Regions from separate parts of the Homo sapiens genome. Here all the other regions are linked to region 2. The links are contacts of gene promoters, found by promoter capture Hi-C in blood cells and fetal thymus (Javierre and others, 2016). All regions are on one chromosome and are shown on one strand. Each heading gives the region's core, a stretch centred on a gene start or on the middle of the fragment in contact. The rest is flanking DNA. Distances are from core to core; before and after follow the strand shown. Region 1 has its middle 3.3 kb from the start of PLEKHB2. Region 2 holds the start of IMP4 (IMP U3 small nucleolar ribonucleoprotein 4). Region 3 overlaps FAM168B (family with sequence similarity 168 member B).

Region 1 (4,567 bases), core at 52-2,551, 760 kb before region 2:
ATTAGGAGAAATTGTGTGAAGGGTATACTAGCTTTATAACTTTTTTGTAGTCTAAAATTATTCCAGATGAAAAGTTGGGGGTTTTCTGAAGACAATAGAGGGAAAATAAATGTTAGCCAGGTGAGATGGTTCATGCCAGTAATCCCAGAGCTTTGCGAGCCAGAGGCAGGAGGATTGCTTGAGCCCAGAAGTTTGACCTGCAATCAAGCCACTGCGTTCCAGCCTAGCAGGGGTTGGGGGGTGGTGTAGGGGTACTGCCTGGAAAGAGGCTTGAGAGAGCCTCCTGGCAACCCCACTCCTAGGGTGCTGAAAATGTTCTATACATTGATCTGAGTGGTGGGTACGTGTGTGTAAGTAAAACTTTATCAAGCTGAACACTATACTTAACATTTGTACATTTTTGGCCGGGCACAGTGGCTCACGCCTGTAATCCCAGCACTTTGGGAGGCCGAGGCAGGCAGATCACGAGGTCAGGAGTTTGAGACCAGCCTGACCAACGTGGTGAAACACCGTCCATACTAAAAATACAAAAAAAAATTAGTCAGGCCTGGTGGTGCGCTTGTAATCCCAGATACTCAGAGACTAAAAATACAAAAATTAGCCAGGCGTGGTGGCGGGCGCCGGTAGTCCCAGCTACTTGGGAGGCTGAGGCAGGAAAATGGTGTGAACCCGGGAGGCAGACGTTGCACTGAGCCGAGATCACGCCACTGCACTCCAGCCTAGGCGACAGAGAGACTCCATCTAAAAAAAAAAAAAAAAAAAAAAAAGATTTGTACATTTTTCTGTGTATAAATTATATCTAAATTTAAAAGGGAAAAACTCTTAAAAAAAATATTGGAAGAGCCCTATTATTATTGGTCTTCAAAACCCCAAACTCTGCCAATCAGGGCCCCTGTCTTAACCCAGCTCCTCTCTGGGGAAAATTTAAAAAATGCAGGGTAGGGAGTCCTATGATGCCTGCAATCCCATCTTTTGCAAGATATTATAGCTTAGTCAACACAAGAGTTCAGAGATTTGTGTGACATGGGGTTCTTCCTGGTTCCGCTGCTTCTGGATGAGCTCGGGTAAATTGCCTGACATCAACAAGCTTCTTGACCAGCCCTCATTAAGGCTATACTAGCCCTGACCACCTTCAGGGTCAGTCTTAGGGACCTTTCAGGGTCTGAGTTTGGAGTATCCAAAAATACACTAACACATTCTCTCTGAGTGATGGGACTGTGGATGACATTTCTTTTTTCTACTTTTCTGCATTTTCCAAGTTTTCTTTCATGAATATGTATCACTTCAACAACAGGAAAAAGTAATATTTAAGGCTGGGTGTGATGGCTCACGTCTATAATCCCAGCACTTTGGGAGGCCAAGACAGGAGAATTACTTGAGCCCAGGAGTTCAAGACCAGCTTGGGCAACACAGTGGGACACTTTCTCTACAAAAAAATAAAAATAAAAAAATTAGACTGGCATGGTGGCATGCATCTGTAGTCCCAGCTACTTGAGAGGCTGAGAGGGAAGCTTCACTAGAATCCGGGAGGTCAAGGGTGCAGTGAGCCATGATTGTGTCACTGCACTCCAGGTTGAGCAAAAGAATGAGACCCTGCCTCAAAATAATAATAATTTTTTTTTTGAGATGGAGTCTCACTGTCACCCAGGCTGGTGGACAGTGGCACCATCTAGGCTCACTGCAACCTCCGCCTCCTGGGTTCAAGCAATTATTCTGCCTCAGCCTCCTGAGTAGCTGGGAATACAGGTGTGCGCCCCCACACCCAGCTATTTATTTTGTATTTTTAGTAGAGACAGGGTTTCATCATGTTGGCCAGGCTGGTCTCAAACTCCCGACCTCGTGATCCACCTGCCTCGGCCTCCCAAAATGCTGGGATTACAGGCGTAAGCCACTGCACCCAGACAAAAAAAAAGTAATATTTTAATAAAGTTCAGTTTAAGTAGGCGTTCCAGTACCTGGAGGAGGGAGTGTCCCATAACAAGTTTTCTGATTCAGTAAAACTGGCTTTCTGGGCTGGGCGTGGTGGCTCACGCCTGTAATCCTAGCACTTTGGGAGGTCGAGGCATGCAGATCGCTCGAGGTCCAGAGTTCGAGACCAGCCTGGCCAACGTGGTGAAACCCCATCTCTACTAAAAATACAAAATAATTAGCCAGGCGTGGTGGCGGGCACCTGTAATCCCAGCTACTTGGGAGGCTGAGGCAGGAGAATAGCTTGAACCCAGGAGGCGGAGGTTGCAGTGAGCTGAGATTGTGCCACTGCACTCCAGCCTGGGCGACTGAGTGAAACTCCAACTCAGAAAAAAAAAAAAAAAAAAGAAAGAAAAGAAAAACTGGCTTCCTGTTCATGTTTATTGAGAAGAGGCCAGGGGAAAGAAGGCTGGGTGCAGGTGAGGACGCCTGCTTTCCAGCCCCCTATCTGAATGTGCAGCCTCTTGTCTGAAACTGAGAGGGAGAAGTCCAAGAGTTCAAAGAGTTGCATTGGGACTCTGTACCCATCAGTCACCTGTCTCTGTGGCCCTCAACTGGCTCAAACCAAATTACCTGCTGCTAAGCCCCACTCCATTTCTTGCCCAGTTACTAGTATGCGTTTCTTTATTGAAGAAAATAAAGTGAGAAGTTCTGGTGGTTAAAAAAGAAATTCCAGGCCAGGCACATTAGCTCACACCTGAAATCCCAACATTTGGAAGGCCGAGGCAGGAGGATCACTTGAGGCCAAAAGTTCAAGACCAACCTGGACAACATAGTAAAACAAAATATACAAAAACATAAGTAAATTTAAAAAAAAAACTCCAAATAGAACATGAAGTAAAATACCATGTCTCCCCTGCTACACCCCACATAATTGGGAATGTGGAGCTTCCAAGGAATAGGAGATAACAGGCACTCTTCCTTTACTTTTTCTTTCTTTGTGTTTTTTTTTTTTTTTTTTGAGACGGAGTCTCGCTCTGTCGCCCAGGCTGGAGGGCAGTGGCGGGATCTCGGCTCACTGCAAGCCCCACCTCCCAGGATCACGCCATTCTCCTGCCTCAGCCTCCCAAGTAGCTGGGACTACAGGCACCCGCCACCACGCCCGGCTAATTTTTTGTATTTTTAGTAGAGACGGAGTTTCACCATGTTAGCCAGGATGGTCTCCATCTCCTGACCTCGTGATCCGCCCGCCTCAGCCTCCCAAATTGCTGTGATTACAGGCGTGAGCCACAGCGCCCGGCCGAAATTTTTTATATGTATAAAAGTAGCCAGGGTGGAACAGTAGGATTTCAGCTGCCCCACAATGTTTACCAACACCCAGGTCCATCCCAAACAGACACACAGCACTAGGGAGAAGAGCAGGGGCAAGCAATGCAGAGTGCAGCGCAGGAAGCCGTTCCAGCATGCTGGCTGCACCTTTGCTTCTCCTATACGGAAACTTTGTAACTGCTTTTTGGGGTGGGAAACAATGAGTTTTTGCATGCCTAAATTTTACTTCATTTTGCCCTCAACATCTACTAAGAAGCCATGGCTTTCTTCAGACAGTGGAATCCATTTCTTTCTTTCTTTTTTTTATTTTTTTGAGACGGAGTTTCACTCTTGTTGCCCAGGCTGGAGTGCAATGGCTCGATCTTGGCTCACCACAACCTCCGCCTCCCAGGTTCAAGCGATTCTCCTGCCTCGGCCTCCCAAGCAGCTGATACTACAAGCACCCACCACGACACCCGACTAATTTTGTATTTTTAGTAGAGACGGGGTTTCTCCAGGTTGGTCAGGCTGGTCTCGAACTCCCAACCTCAGGTGATCCGCCTGCCCCGGCCTCCCAAAGTGCTGGAATTACAGGCATGAGCCACCACGCCCGGCCAAAGACAGTGGAATCCATTTCTTTTGAGGATAGTAGTTGGGGTTTTGCCCACTATAAACAGGAAGCTGCCCATGTACACAAGAATGGAGAAATAAAAAGGGGCACAGCTGTGGTACAGGCAGCCTTGCAGTTAATGTCCTTGTTTACAGGTCTGTTTCTCTCCCCCTTCACTCCCTGCTTTGGATTGCAGCCTTTTCTGCCTATTTCAACCATCCACAGGAAAGTGAGTGCCCTTTCTCCTCCAGCCCACCTGAGCCTCTACTGCTACTTCAGTTTGGAGTGTTTCTTGTTTACTGTTGAACATCTGTCACCTATTTCACAGGCATCTATGGAGGGACAAAATGAGTTCTTGGCCTCCCATTTTGAATCCGAAGCCCTCAACCCCAAATACTTTGTTTTTTGTTTGTTTGTTTGTTTGTTTGTTTGCTTTTGAGATGGAGTCTCGCTCTGTCACCCAGGCTGCAGTGTAGTGGAGTGATCTCGGCTCACTGAAACCTCCGCCTCCCAGGTTCCAGCAATTCTCCTGCCTCAGCCTCCTGAGTAGCTGAGACTACAGGCACACGCCACCACACCTGGCTAATTTTTGTATTTTTTGGTAGAGATGGGGTTTCACCATATTGTCCAGGCTGGTCTCAAACTACTGACCTTGTGATCTGCCTGCCTCAGCCTCCTAATGTGTTGGAATTACAGGCGTGAGCCACTGCGCCTGGCCTTTCTGTTTTTTATTTCTTGAGA
Region 2 (4,255 bases), core at 427-2,926:
TCCAATACACCACAGCTTATTAGCCTGCACATGCTTGAAATAAAAATACCTCAGCCCTTTCTGAGCTTGGATAAAGCATGGATAGAGGTGACAAAACTTTCTACAGGCCAACCCCCATAAACAGTGGTTACTAGGACTTCATTTTCTTTAGTCTCATGACTTGAGGACTTTCTAAAATATCTTAATGTACTGTATTGCTTTTATAATCAGGTAGAAATCTAAACATCGATTTTTTTTTTTTTTGAGACGGAGTCTCGCTCTGTCACCCAGGCAGAGCAGTGCAGTGGTGCCATCTCGGCTCACTGCAAGCTCCGCTTCCTGGGTTCACGCCATTCTCCTGCCTCAGGCTGGCGAGTAGCTGGGACTACAGGAGCCCGCCACGGCGCCCGGCTAATTTTTTATATTTTTAGTAGAGACGGGGTTTCACCGTGTTAGCCAGGATGGTCTCGATCTCCTGACCTCGTGATCCACCCGCTTCGGCCTCCCAAAGTGCTGGGATTACAGGCGTGAGCCACAGCGCTCGGCCTTAAAAATTACTTTTGAAAAGAAATATAGACTGTTCTGTACGTATGATGGTGGACCAGAGACCTTTAAGCTCTCAGACAGCAAAACCGTTGGTCACGATGCCCACAGCGCTTCGAAGGCATGGCTTCAGCGGGCCCTGGACCACAGGCTGCCTACCGCAGAGCACAGCGCTCCAGGTGCGCACTCGGGGCCAGCACTGTTCCCCACGGAGCTCAGAGGAACTCCTGCAGGGAGGATGGGCAGCGCAGTCTGCAGCACCAGCGCTATCCAGATAGTCTTTAGAGAGAATTTCTTTTTTTTTTTTTTTTTGAGACGGAGTCTTGCTTTTTTGCCCAGGCTGGAGTGCAGTGGCAGGATCTCGGCTCACTGCAACCTCCGCCTCCCGGGTTCAAGCGATTCTCCTGCCTCAGCCTCCTGAGTAGCTGGGATTACAGGCGCGTGCCACCACGGCCGGCTAATTTTTGTATGTTTAGTAGAGACGAGATTTCACCATGTTGGTCAGGCTCGAACTCCTGACCTCATGATCCGCCCGCCTCGGCCTCCCAAAGTGCTGGGATTACAGCAGTGAGCCACCGCTCTAAAGAGAATTTCTACAGGACAAGATAAAGTCTTTAAAACTTGGGACGAACTTGACACACTGCACACAGCGGGCAAGCTGCAAAACCCGGGTACTGCAACGTCAGTGACAAGTAATTAATACCATCACACGGAAGAAACACTCTCAAAACCAACAGGAGAACCCAATGGGCAAGGAAAACGGCCGGCAAGCATTTGGAAAGACGCTCGGATATTCGAACACAAATGCGTGCCGGGGTGGTTTACCACGCAGACGCCCGCGGGGCCGATGCCTTACCTTCCAGCGCGCGCCGCAGCCGCTCCTTCCTCTCCTGGGCTGAGCGCTGCGCCTCCTCCCGGGCCTTGCGGTACAGGTACTCGCGGCGCAGGCGGGCCTCGCGGCGCAGCTGTGGGAACAGCAGGCCCAGTCACTCACTACTCGCTCCCGAGCCCCGGAACCCCGGAGCCCCGGAGCCGCTGAGCCTCCAAGTCCCCAGAGCCACATCCCCAGCACTTCACGCGCCCCGGACCTCCGAAACAGGAGCTCATTCTCCTACCATCTTGAGTGCCGCTTCCACGTGGGTCCGGGAGAATCTGTGGGCTCCTCCAGCGCGACACAGTCCTCACTTCCGCCCTCAACCAAGATGGTCCCTTAGACGCTTCACTGGTGCCTGCAGCTGTGGGGAATGCCCTATGTTAAGATGGCGAATAGGGCGGGGACATCTCAAGGCGATTGGCCATTCCGGCAGGGCGTTCTCCTTGGGATAACCGATAGACTGGATACAGAATGTCACACGTGACTTAGGACCGCAGCTAATAAATATGTCCGCCCAGGCTTCTCCATCCTCGTCCTCCCCCCACCACCGCCGTGCAGAATGCAGTTTTCAGATGACGAACCGCTAAAACAATCATAATTAGCGGCTGGAAACAGTTCAACTGTAAAAACCGCACACCGACTGAAGGTTGCTTGCCGGCTCCTTTCCAAATTAACTTTAAAACCACTCTTCCCTCAACCAAAATGGTTTCTGTAGAGCTTCGCCTTCTTCCATCGCCACAACAGTGGCGCGACTTCTAAGATTCGGCAGCTTCCGGAAGGACTCAGAACCACCTATAACCCTAGCCGACAGTTCAGCAGGCTGATCCACTTGGGGGCTAATTGGAGAAACCAGTTGATTGGTTGCTTCCGTGCTGCTTCTCTAAGGGCGCTTGCCCTTAAAGAAGCTGACCCAGAGGCCTTGGTGCTGCCGGCGTGGGGATCCCCAGATGGGAACGCCCCTTGATGGAGGATCTCGTGTGCCTATTGGCTGTCCTGCCAAACTGCGGAGGGTGACAAGGAAGAAGGTGGCTCCAGATCTGGAGGTGTGTCCATGGCGGCGCTTGACCTGCGAGCGGAGCTGGATTCGCTGGTCCTGCAGCTGCTTGGGGACCTGGAGGAGCTGGAGGGGAAACGAACGGTGTTGAACGCCCGGGTGGAGGAGGTAGGCGCCTGGGGCGGGCAGGAGGGTACACGGGCGTAAACTGAGTCTCACCGCTTTCCTCTCCCTGCAGGGCTGGCTCTCGCTCGCCAAGGCTCGCTACGCGATGGGCGCCAAGTCGGTAGGGCCCCTGCAGTATGCTTCCCACATGGAGCCCCAGGTCTGCCTCCACGCCAGGTGAGGAAGCTTCCATGCTGGGCTGGGTGGGCGGGCGGGCGCGTTCTAGGCCCGGGCTGCCAAAGCTCCATCCTCCCTTCTCGTCCTTCAGCGAGGCCCAGGAGGGACTCCAGAAGTTCAAGGTGGTGAGAGCTGGTGTCCACGCCCCAGAGGAGGTGGGGCCTCGCGAAGCAGGTGAGCCCCCTCTTCCTTCTGCAGAACCCCTTCCCAGTGTCAAAGACAAAATGCAAATTATGGAGATGATTTAAATTAGGTTTTTGCGATAAGAGAGAGCATCCCAGAGCAGAAGAACAGAATGTTTTTGTAGGGTGGTTTTGCCTTAGACTTTTATAGGAAGTAGAGAAATTGTTGGTGAGTTGCTTTACACTGGGAATAGATTTACAATCACATACATTTCAGTCAGCTGAACAGAAAATATTTATCTGTGTGTCTAGCTAGTTTCAGAGGGACAAACTTCTAATCCCAGTTAATCATCCTGAGACAAAGAATGGGGAGTTGGAACGTCTATGTCTGGTCTGTTGGCATGTTCAGGTACAATGGGTAAGATCAGTGTCACAGGCAAACAGGGTCATCAGTGGGTCTTACAGGAGTCACGGGAAAGAGTGGACAAACAGTCTCATCTGAATCACAAGGGGAAAGGCTGTGTTTTGTGGTAAGCTGTTTCCTGGAACCCCAAAGTTGGAATTTTCCAACCAACAGTGTTTTATAGAATCATGAGCTCAGATCAAGCTCAACATTGTCACCAAGATGATAAAGGTCAGGGAGTAAGATCCCAGCCTCCTCCAACCTTTCTTTCCTCAGGTCTGCGGAGGCGCAAGGGCCCCACTAAGACCCCAGAACCGGAGTCCTCTGAGGCCCCTCAGGACCCCCTGAACTGGTTTGGAATCCTAGTTCCTCACAGTCTACGTCAGGCTCAAGCAAGCTTCCGGGATGGTGAGTGGACCGTGTTGTTTGGCTCTGTGGCCCTCAGACCCTCTATCCACAGGGAACACTTGAGCACTGCTGCCATGGCTGGGGTTAGTCTGTGAAAGGCTTTGCAGGTTTTCCTCCATCCAAACTTCCGTTGTACACCCATTATTTTTTCCAAAAGCATTTACTGGTTGTTGGCAGCATTCGGGTTCATGCTAGCTGCTGGGGATACAGCAGGGAACAAAAGAGACAAACACTTTTCATGTAATGTTTAGAAGCAGACAAAGGCAACGTGCAAATAAGTAGGCCCTTAACATAAGTCAGGCTGTGAAAATTGTTATGAAAAACACATAATGGAGTGGGACAGGAGTGGGCCAGGGGAGGTCTCTCTGAGGAGGTGAAGGAAAAGCTTTGTGGGTGATTTTGGGGAACAGTGCTCTAGATGGAGGAACCAGCCAGGACAAAAGCCCTGAAGCCAGATATATCTGGTATGTGCCGAGGCCGGTGGCCTAGAGTGGAGTCAGGTGATGTAAGCCCTGATGAAGACTGTGGGACCCACAGAGAGGCTCTGAGCAGAGGATGGTGCAACTGGCTGTACAGGGTCACAGGAATGC
Region 3 (4,369 bases), core at 944-3,443, 740 kb before region 2:
GTACCTGGCCTTTCCCCTTGCTTTTAGTGGACATATAGCTAACAATTTTTACTCCTTAGCTTCTGATGGACTGAGGAGAATTGTGAAAAAAAGTTTATCATGCCCTGGTTTGGCACCCATTAGGACATCGAGTGTCCCTTTTCTGTTCTTCGCTGGTTGGGGGCAGCATGAAATGCATTGTTTTATAGCAGCCTAGAGAAAGGACTCTAGCTACCTGCTTTTTGGGGACTGGTACTGGAGAAAAATCTGAGAGCAAAAGTGCTTGGCTAAATTCCCTTTTTTTTCTTTTAGTTTTTGAAATCATGAATCCTGTTTATAGTCCTGGATCTTCTGGGGTTCCCTATGCAAATGCCAAAGGAATTGGTTATCCAGGTAAGTAAGTAAAATTTTGTTTTCATTTTTGAACTTTGAATACTTGGTATATTTTCATGTCACTAAGAATGCTTTCTATTGACAAACGCAGCTCAAAGTGGCTTAGACAAGAAAGAAAATACCTGGAAGTGAAAAATCAAATGATAGGACTGGATTTGGTCAAAACTTGATCTAGTGGCTCCAGCAGTTGGGACCAGGATCTAGTTTCTCTACCTCCTGGTCTCAGCTTCGCTTCCTCAGTATTAACTTAGTGTTGGTCACAGGTCCCACTCCTTCTCATTGTGGTCTCTGAAGTTCAGGCCCCTCCCAGTAGTCCCTCACTAAGAGCCTCTTTACCTCCACTCTACAGGAAAGCCTGATGGGACTGCTTGTTCTCTATTCAAACCAGTCCTGGGCTTTGTTCTGATTAAACTCAGCATCCATCCCTGGGCCACAAAGGGGAGTCTGCTGATTGACTTAGGCCTGATCCACATCCCTTTAGTGGAGTCAGCTAGTCAAATATGGACTGCAAGTGAGGGTTGCAGCGAAATGGATATTGAGGGGATAGGAGCTGGTTGGTCAAAAATAGCAAATGGTTGTTCCCTTCGGTGACTTTGCACAAGGAGTAGTTATTTATAATGATACAGTTTCATTTTGGGTTTTGATAATATGGTAGAAGAGATAACCCCAAAACTTTGTTGCTAAGACTCTCAGAAAGTGAAATAAAACATTTTACAAATGTATAACTGAACTTGCAGGAGGTAAGAGAGATATCTGGGGTCAAATGTGAAGGCCATGTTAAACCCAGCTAACTTGGCCTTTGAACTAATGTCGTGCCTGTCCTGGGCACATGTGCTATTTGTGGGTTTTAACAACCCACATGGGGATAGAGATTGAGTATTAGGACCCTTGCGACAGGGAATGAGAGTGAGACTTCTTATCAGTCATTCTCGTCCCTCTGGAGGGTGATACTCTCAGCAAAGAGATAGACTAAACAGTCTAGTCGTCCAGTGGCCCCATAAGGAAGTTTATATGCTTGGGCTCTGAGAAGCGGGAGATCTTTACTAAGACTTTGTAAGCATTCAGAGATGTTTGGGGCTCTAGCTTGTATTATACTCCCCAGGGGTTCAGAAGTTGAGAAATTAACGTAAAAATAGTCTCCAGGCTTGGTTACTCCTGGGGCTCCTGACAGCAGCGAATGCAGAACTGCTGTGGGGGCATATGTTCACAACCCAGGTTGCGTGGGCTTCCTGCAGGCAAAGTTCTGCCTGCTAGCATGGGATGCCTCCCATCAAGTAAGAGGCACCAGCCATGACAGACTGCAGGAGAAGAACCATCAGGTAGATGCTATGTCACATAGCCAAGTTTAGAAGAATTGCAGATATAAAAGAAAGAATCAGAAACATAAGAGGGGAACAAGATGCTGAGAAAAAAGAACTAGCTGGAACTTTAAGAAATGAAACAAAATGGCATATGAACAAATTTCAGGTTAATATCAAGACAAGACACTGGTTAAGAGAGAACCAGAATGCAACATAAGGAAAGGGAGGAAAACAGAACAGTAAAGAAACATCTGGAGCTCTTCTCCAGAAGGGCTGAGTAGAGAAACTGTAAGAAAAGGAGTGACAGGCTGGGTGTAGTGGCTCATGCCTGTAATCCCAGCACTTTGGGAGGCCGAGGCAGGCAGATCATGAGTTCAGGAGATCGAGACCATCCTGGCTAACACTGAAACCCCGTCTCTACTAAAAATACAAAAAAAAATTAGCCAGGCATGGTGGCGGGCGCCTGTATCTCCAGCTACTTAGGATGCTGAGGCAGGAGAATGGCGTGAACCCGGGAGGTGGAGCTTGCAGTGAGCTGAGATCGTGCCACTGCACTCCAGCCTGGGCGACAGAGCAAGACTCTGTCTCAAAAAAAAAATTCTTTTACTATTCTTTTAGTGCTTATTATAAAGATTATACCTCTTTTATTTTTATTTTTTTGAGACCGTCTTGCCCTGTTGCCCAGGCTGGAGTGCAGTGGCACGATCTCAGCTCACTACAACCTCCATCTCCCGGGTTCAAGCGATTCTCCAGCCTCAGCCTCCCGAGTAACTGGGATTACAGATGCATGCCACCATGCCCAGCTAATTTTTTGTTCACTGTGTGAGCCAGGCTGGTCTCGAACTGCAGACCTCAAGTGATCCGCTCTCCTGAGCCTCCCAAAGTGCTGTGATTATAAGCGTGAGCCCCTCTTTTTCTGTTGTTGCCTTACCTTAAGATATTACTTGTGTCACAGTACTCCAGCCTGGTGACAGAGCGAGACTCTGTCTCAAAAAAAAAAAAAGACGTTACTGTTTTAATTTTGTGCAATCAACAGCCATTTATATTTATTCACACATTTACTGTTTTTGGTGCTCTTCATTGCTTTCTCTATTTACATGTTTCTCTCTGGAGTCATTGACCTTTATCTGAACAACTCTCAACATTTTTTTTTTTTCTGAGACAGAGTTTCACTCTTGTTGCCCAGGCTGGAGTGCAATGGCGTGATCTTGGCTCACTGCAACCTCTGCCTCCCGCGTTCAGGTGATTCTCCTGCCTCAGCCTCCTGAGTTGCTGGGATTACAGGCGCCTGCCACCATGCCCAGCTAATGTTTGTATTTTTAGTAGAGATGGGTTTTTGCCATATTGGCCAGGCTGATCAAGAACTCCTGACCTCAGGTGATCCTCCCACCTCGGCCTCCCAAAGTGTTGGGATTACAAGCGTGAGCCACTGCTCCGAGCCACATTTTTTTTTTTAAACCACAAGTCTGTTAGTGAATTTTGTTTTGTGAAATTGTCTTTATTTTGCTTTTCTTTTGAGGCATTCTTTTGCCGGGTGTGTTTGTTTTTTTTGTGGCTGCTATAACAGGTAACCACAAACTTGGTGGGTTAAAGCCATAGAGATGTAGTCCCAGAGGTTCGAAATCAAGGCGTTGGCAGGTCTGTACTCCTAGTGCAGGCCCAGAGGAAAATCCATTCCTTGCATCTTCTAGTTTCTGGTGGCTGTCTGCAGTCTTTAGCATGTGGCTTTGTGGCTGCATCACTCCCATTTCTGCCTCCATGGTCACATCCTCTCCTGTGTGTCTTTTGTGTGTTTGTTTTGAGACGAAGTCTCACTCTTGTCACCCAGGCTGGAGTGCAGTGGCGTGATCTTGGCTCTCTGCAACATCTGCCTCCCAAGTTCAAGTGATTCTCCTGCCTCAGCCTCCTGAGCAGCTGGGATTACAGGTATGTGGTGCGTGCCACCACGCCCGACTAATTTTTGTATTTTTAGTAGAGATAGGGTTTCACCATGTTGGCCAGGCTGGTCTTAAACTCCTGACCTCAGGTGATTGGCCTCCCAAAGTGCTGGGATTACAGGCCTGAGCCACCGTGCCCGGCCCTGTGTGTTTTTTATAAGGACACTTGTCATTGGATTTAGAGCCAGCCTGGGCAGTCCAGGATTCCAGAATGACCTCATCTCAAGATCCTTCACTTAATCACATCTGTGAAGATTATTTTCCCGAATAATGTCACATTATTTCCTCTCAGCACTTTAAAGATAAAATTTGTCATCTGGTTTCTGTCAAAATAATTTTTTTTTTTTTTTTTGTGAAAGGGTCTTGCTCTGTCATTCAGGCCCCAGTGCAGTGGTGTAGTCACGGCTCACTGCAGCCTCAAACTCCTTGGACTCAAGGGATCCTCCTGCCTCAGCCTCCCAAGTAGCTGGGACTACAGGTGTGCGCTACCATGCCTGAATAATTTTTTAATTTTAATTTTTGTAGAGATCGGGTCTCACTGTGTTGCCCAGGCTGATCTCAAACTCCTGTGCTCATCCCACCTCAGCCTCCCAAAGTACTGGGAGTACAGGCCTGAGCCACTGTGCCCGGCCTAGAATAATTTTTGCCTCTTTGAAATCATGTTTCTTCTCTACATTTCCCCCAACCCGTGTACCTTGCTACTTTGAAAATATCTTTGCTTTTACCATGATGTAACTAGATGCGATTTTATTTGTATTT

Evidence for each region. The method cuts DNA at HindIII sites, captures the fragments that hold promoters and counts their contacts. A CHiCAGO score of 5 or more calls a contact.
Region 1: a fragment that was not itself captured here is called in contact with the fragment with the promoter of IMP4 in region 2 in 3 of 17 cell types (non-activated CD4 T cells, total CD8 T cells and activated CD4 T cells); the score reaches 8.5 in non-activated CD4 T cells.
Region 3: a fragment that was not itself captured here is called in contact with the fragment with the promoter of IMP4 in region 2 in 1 of 17 cell types (non-activated CD4 T cells); the score reaches 5.1 in non-activated CD4 T cells.

The regions. Positions count from the first base shown.
Region 1 is chr2:131,099,777-131,104,343 of GRCh38, reverse strand. No RefSeq gene overlaps it. Among named protein-coding and RNA genes, the nearest start is that of PLEKHB2, 3.3 kb to the left of the region's middle. The HindIII fragment of the contact is 424 bases long and covers 1,090-1,513 here.
Region 2 is chr2:130,340,318-130,344,572 of GRCh38, reverse strand. It overlaps IMP4 (IMP U3 small nucleolar ribonucleoprotein 4), which reads right to left and starts at 1,676. Exons shown (of 9, transcript NM_033416.3): 1 at 1,638-1,676; 2 at 1,379-1,487. The coding sequence starts at 1,640. VMA22 (vacuolar ATPase assembly factor VMA22) reads left to right here and starts at 2,409. Exons shown (of 5, transcript NM_032357.4): 1 at 2,409-2,558; 2 at 2,629-2,732; 3 at 2,824-2,906; 4 at 3,534-3,665. The coding sequence starts at 2,448. RefSeq lists enhancers at 1,644-1,813, 1,944-2,493. The HindIII fragment of the contact is 8,635 bases long and covers 1-2,743 here.
Region 3 is chr2:131,078,580-131,082,948 of GRCh38, reverse strand. It overlaps FAM168B (family with sequence similarity 168 member B), which reads left to right. Exons shown (of 7, transcript NM_001009993.4): 2 at 292-372. The coding sequence starts at 303. Among named protein-coding and RNA genes, the nearest start is that of FAM168B, 13 kb to the left of the region's middle. The HindIII fragment of the contact is 8,121 bases long and covers 1-4,369 here.